2 separate regions of the Homo sapiens genome follow, and region 2 is linked to region 1. Evidence: promoter capture Hi-C in human tissues and cell types (Jung and others, 2019). All regions are on one chromosome and are shown on one strand. The core of a region is centred on a gene start or on the middle of the fragment in contact, and the rest is flanking DNA. Distances in the headings are between cores, read along the strand shown. Region 1 holds the start of CADM4 (cell adhesion molecule 4). Region 2 overlaps ZNF223 (zinc finger protein 223).

Evidence for each region. Contacts are between HindIII fragments. The study calls those that stand out against the background at their distance.
Region 2: a contact is called between a fragment that was not itself captured here and the fragment with the promoter of CADM4 in region 1, in 2 of the 25 tissues and cell types used here (dorsolateral prefrontal cortex and lymphoblastoid cells).

Annotation. Positions count from the first base shown.
Region 1 is chr19:43,638,463-43,641,446 of GRCh38, reverse strand. CADM4 (cell adhesion molecule 4) reads left to right here and starts at 1,597. Exons shown (of 9, transcript NM_145296.2): 1 at 1,597-1,720. The coding sequence starts at 1,657. RefSeq lists a silencer at 1,574-1,713. The HindIII fragment of the contact is 16,381 bases long and covers 1-2,984 here.
Region 2 is chr19:44,064,055-44,067,038 of GRCh38, reverse strand. It overlaps ZNF223 (zinc finger protein 223), which reads right to left. Exons shown (of 5, transcript NM_013361.6): 5 at 1-975. Among named protein-coding and RNA genes, the nearest start is that of ZNF284, 6.6 kb to the left of the region's middle. The HindIII fragment of the contact is 6,488 bases long and covers 1-2,984 here.

The DNA.
Region 1 (2,984 bases), core at 348-2,847:
GGACAGAGAAGACACTGGGAGCCATGGTCCTGGGACACAAGGGTTGATGGTAGCTATGGTTTTGAGGTCAGAAAGGATACTGGGAGCTGGGTACTGAGGACAGAAAGGGTGTGTGAAGCTGAAGTCCCTTGTGGGACTGGATGTAAAATTTTTTAGTCGGAATAAAAAGTAAGGATTTTCAGCCAGGCATGGTGGCTCACGCCTGTAATCCAGCACTTTGGGAGGCCAGACAGATGGATCACCTGAGGTAAGGAGTTCAAGACCAGCCTGGCCAGCATGGCAAAACTCCGTCTCTACTAAAAATATAAAAATTAGCTAGGCATGGTGGCGGGCGCCTGTAATCTCAGCTACTCGGGAGGCTGAGGCAGGAGAATCACTGGAACCTGGGAGGCAGAGGTTGCAGTGAGTCGAGATCGTGCCACTGCACTCCAGCCTGGGCAACAGAGCGAGACTCCGTCTGGGCGGGGAGGGGGGAGGGGGGAAGGAAAGATGTTCATAATTGGCACTTCTGGACCTCAGTTTGCCTGACAAATGGGCATGAGAGAGGTCGAGGCCTTCTTTCCATGGTTTCTCACTCTTTCTGGGTCCCATAGGTAATGATCCCGCATCAGGTCTACAGGGTGTCACAGAAGTGGGCTCAGGGAAACCCACTCCCAGGAGGGAGAAGGGACCTAAGTCTGGAGGGGTGAGTCACCCTCAAAGATGGGGAGAGAGGAAGGGCAGAGGCAAATACATGCAGAGAGAGGGAGAGAGGCTGGGGCAGGGAGACAGCAGGGAGGAGAGGGGACGCCAGGGCTTGGAAGGTGTTCACAGGAGCCTCTCCCTCCTGGGACCCAGGATTCAGGCTTCCTTCCAGTTAGTTCACTTTCAGGGGGCCCCTCCCGGAGAATGACGCGGAAACACGGGGTTTTCAGGTCAGGACAGGAGAGAGGGAGGGAGGGAACTGACCCCACCCCACTCCTGAGCCCCAGCCTCGCCCTGCCCTGGGAGATCCTTGACCTGCCTCGACCTCCGGACCCTCCGGACCTCCAGCTGCAGCCTCCCCTGTCCCGGTGGCTCAGCTCACAGCCTCTCGCTAGACTCCAGACACCCACCTGCCCGCAGCACGCCTCTCACACTCACCTTTCCCACGTCGCACTCCCTCCCTTACGCTCCCCCGTCACGCTGGCCACGCTCTCCCTTCGCACACACCGCACCCCACGACGCCCGCGCCCCCACCCTCGCACAGCCTCCAGCAACACCCTGCCACCCTCCCCTCCGCGCAGCGCAAGCACCCTGCATGCCAGCAACTCCGCACCCTCGCGCGCAGCACCTGGGCCCGCACGCAGCACCCTCACCCAACACCCTCCATTTCCCGCGCTCACCGAGATCCCCCACCTGCTCCCACGCCGCTGTCGCCCTCCCGCGCACCCCTTCCCGCCCTCCTCACCCCTCTCCTCTCCAGCTTTCGCACCCCGCACCGTTCCCCCACCGTGCCGTCCCCCCGATTGTCTCCGGGCCTCTCCTCCGTCTCCCCCTCCCCTCCCCGGCCCCGCCCCGGCCTCGGCGCCCCGCCCCCGGGCGGGCAGGGGGCGGGGCGCGGGGGGCGGGGCGGGCGGCGCGGGCGGTGCAGGTGCCGGGCCGGGAGCGAGCGGCGGCGGCGGCGGCGGCGGCACCATGGGCCGGGCCCGGCGCTTCCAGTGGCCGCTGCTGCTGCTGTGGGCGGCCGCGGCGGGGCCAGGTAGGGTCGGGGGCCGGGGTCGGCCGGCCGGGCTGGGGCGGGGGGCGCGCTGTGGTGACAGCCCGGCAGCCTCGGGGCCGCAGAGGCCGAACAATGCGCGCGGGGCCGGGCCGGGCCCCCTCCCCGGGACAAAGCGCAGCGCGGGCCGGGAGCCGGGAGCGACGAGCGGGGGAGGGGGCGCGGGGCCCGGCCGCCGTGCCGCAGCCCCCCCACCCGCGCAGGCTGGATCCCGGCGGGGACAAAGGGCCCGAGACCCCCCTACACACACAAGTCCGCCCTCCCCAGGCCGGTCCCGCTGTCCTTCTGTCCAGTCTCTGCGTCCCTCTGTCCGCCCGTCTCTGAACCCCCCCGTCTGGCTCCTCGTCCCCCTACCCTTGTCCTCTATCCCTCAGTCTCGAAGTCCTGTCCCTCCTTCTGTCTGTCTCCCTCTCTTCTTGCCTCGGTGTTCCTCATCTATTCTGTCTTTGTCCCCTACCTCTGTCCCCTGGTCTCTGTCCCCTTTTCCTGGGTCACTCTGTCCCCTCCATCATCCTGTCTATTCTCTTTCCCCCGGATTTCTGCCCTCCCTCTCTGCCCCTATTCTTGGTCCCTGTCTCTGTCTCGCTGTCACCCTTGTTTTTCTGTCCCTTTTTCTCTGTCCCCTATCTGCCCCATCCCCTTGTCTCTGTCCCCTGTCTTTCTGTCACTCGTTTCTCTAACCCTTTCTGTCACCTGTCTCTTTCCCCCTTCTCTGTCCCACTATCTCCATCCCTGTCTTTCTGCTGTGCCTCCTCTCTCTACGCTTACAGCCTCCATCCCGGGATCTCCCATTCCCATCCTACCTTCCTCCCTCTCTCTATCCCTCTGTGCCCCTGAAGAGGAATTCAGTCAGGCAGGGCATTCTAAAGAGCCCTGGAGGGGAACATCTGTGTGCATGTGTGTGGGGAAGTGAGAATGGGGGACCTTGGCGTGTAGGCACACACGTGGATTCAGCGAATGCCTCTCCAAACCCTGCTCACCCATTCACACACCCAGGCTTGACTCACAGAGAAGCCCCTGTCCAGGACATCCAGGGAGCCATCCACATACCCTCATCACACACTGTGAGAAGCTGGAGACCCCCGAGGTTGGGTGACCCTGAGAATGGGGACAAGGTCAGGAAATGTCACCCACACACACTCTCACACTGTGTAAGTCTTGAACCTGCCACGGGTCACCCCTCCCTGGTGGATAAGGCCACTTTTGGAAGGAACAGAGGATTGGAAGGTGGCTAGGCAGAAGCAGG
Region 2 (2,984 bases), core at 138-2,637, 430 kb before region 1:
CATCACAGTTATAAGGTCTCTCTCCTGTGTGGGCTCTATGGTGCAAGTCAAGACCTGACTTAGTAATGTAGCTCTTCCCACACTTGTCACATTTGTATGGCTTTTCTCCAGTGTGGACTCGCTGATGGATCAAAAGATAGGAGGACCGTCTGAAGCTCTTCCCACATTCTTTACAATTATATGGTTTCTCTCCTGTGTGGATCGTCTGATGCTTACACAAATCCAGCCTACGAATGAAGCCTTTTCCATATTCCCCAGTGCTGTTTGGTTTCTTTCCTGTGTGGACCACACAATGCCTATTAAGACTTGACCTAAGACGGAAGCTCACACTACATATCTCACATTTGAATGGCTTCTCCCCTGTGTGAATTCTCTGATGTTTCTGAAGCTGGAAATCATGAATGAAGGCCCTCCCACATGCCTCACAATTATAATGTTTCTCTCCCATGTGTAATTTGCAATGAACTGTAAGTGCTGATCTACATCTGAAGCCTCTCCCACATTGTTCACATTTGAAAGGTTTCTCTCCAGTATGGACTCTCTGATGAGTTTGCAGATGTAAACTCTGACTGAATTCCTTACCACACACGTCACACTTAAAGAGTTTCTCTCCCAGGTGGACTCTCTGATGAATATGAAGCGCTGAGATGTAACAGAAGCTTTTTCCACACTCATCACAGGAATGAGACTTCTCTGCTGAGCGTATTTGCTGAGGAAGATCAAAGATGGACATATCACTGAAGGATTGTTTACACTTCCCACAATTGGAAGGTTTCTGTCCTGTGTGCATTATAGATAGTCCTTCCTCAACCTGGGAGTGGGCATCACCCTGTTCAAAGAACTGAGAGCTCTTTATGGTAGAGTCTTGAGGCCTGGTTAAATCACTTGCAATTTCTTCCCAGATCTGCTGGCAGGACCACCCTTCATGTGGTCCTGCTTCTGGAAAAGTCTTCATCTCAGGTTGGATCTTGCCTCCTATCAGAATACAAAATTAAGAGATCAGGACAAGCTATGCCCTGTTCAGTGTTTTTAAGAGTTCACACTTAGGACATGGTATGAAACTTCAACGAATGTTCAGTTTGTGTTTTCCAAGTGCACCCTGGTTTCTGGTTTGCATGAGAGTAATCTAAAACCATACCATGTCACTGGGGACGGTGGCTCACACCCATAATCCCAGCACTTTGGGAGACCAAGGCACTTTGGGAAGCTGAGGCAGGCAGATCACTTGAGGTCAGGAATTCGGGACCAGCCTGACCAACATAGTGAAACCCCGTCTCTATTAAAAATACAAAAATCAGCTAGGTGTGGTGGCACACACCTATAATCCCAGATACTTGGGAGGCTGAGGCAGGAGAATTGCTTGAACCCAGGAGGCGCAGGTTGCAGCAAGCCGAGATCGTGCCACTGCACTCCAGCCTGGGCGACACAGTGAGACTCTGCCTCAAAAAAAAAAAAAAAAAAGAAAAGAAAGAAAAAAACATACCACATTTCAAATAAAAAATCATTGATAGAAATAAAAGGTTTAATAAAAAATTAATATGACACATACATTTAACCTGTTACTGTTTTTAAAATTTCCAACTCAGTCTGAAATTTTACATGATAAATTACTAAACTATTATGTACGTAATGAAATATGAATCAAAAGGAACTCTAAGGGAAAGCAGTAACATAATAAATACTTCGTATATTTGCCTGTATATTATATATCCTTATAAAGAAGTTAACCTTCCTTTCAGTTTAAGATGGCTTAAAAAACATTTTTAAAAATAAGAAAAGGAGTTAACCTAACTAAAAAGAGGTCAGGACTTTGTCCTCAGTATCTGAGAGGTAATCTGTAGAATCTTGAAGGGGCATGCCTGAGGAGAGTCTCTCTGTTTGCTTGGGGGCAAATCTTGGGTAACTCTTGACAGTGAAATAATATAATTTAGGGTTGTGACTAGCCACAGCTTTGGGGGATGGGAAATGGCAGGTGGCATTCCCCATGTCAGAAAAAATAACGATGTGATTTAATGTAGGTCTTTAGGTCACAGGGAACCAGTGGACCAAAAGACTAAATAACCACACAGGAATCAACCAACCAATTATGGCTATGTAATGGAGCCCCAATAATTACTTGGATCCCAGCACTCAGTTGAGTTTCCCTGATTGGTGGTTCCTTGTGTCTAAGTCACATGCTAATTTTGGGTATGTAACATGCCCGACTCTACTGTGAGAATACAATAGGAGATCCACATTTGGTACTTCACTGGACTCTGTCTTATTTGGTTTTTCCCCCTTGGTTAACTATAATATGCATCTTTTGCTTGTAAAAATCAGTAACTGTGAGAATAAATACATCCAGTGAGTTCTGAGGGTCTTTCTAGGAAATTATTGAATGTGAAGGTAGTTTTGAAAAACTGCCGAATTTGCACTTGGAGTGAAGTGAGAGCAGTTCTCTGTAAAATGTCCCATTAAACTTTTTAGTTTAACCCTTCATGATACTAAACATCAAACACCTTAGAATGTTTATATCTACAAATCGAAAGTATTCCTATACAAGAATTTTGCATGACACATATAAAATACTTAATCTTATTTTTCTGTTTTGATATGGATGATAAGTTGGTTATCTGAAAGAGTACAGAGACAGACAACTGCAGTTCTGAGGGGAATCTGAAAGGCTGTCCTTCCAGAGGTCCACAAAGGAGGATGCTCTTCATCAGACAATCAATGATGTGAAGAATCACTTGGAATGAAAAGAAAGCCTATGATGTAGATAAACAGGCCTTTTTAACTGTTTTTATATTCAAGACTACACATCAGTGAGCTGAAATAAAGTTAAAACCTTCAATAGACATTTATAGAAAGGAGCCAGAATGAAAATTATCACAGTGTGGAGACAAGCAGGAAAGGTGTCGTTACATGAAATGTCAGCTAAAGTCACTCACATACACCTACATGCATGAAAACTGTCCAGGTTATACTGAAAGAGGTGTTTCTTA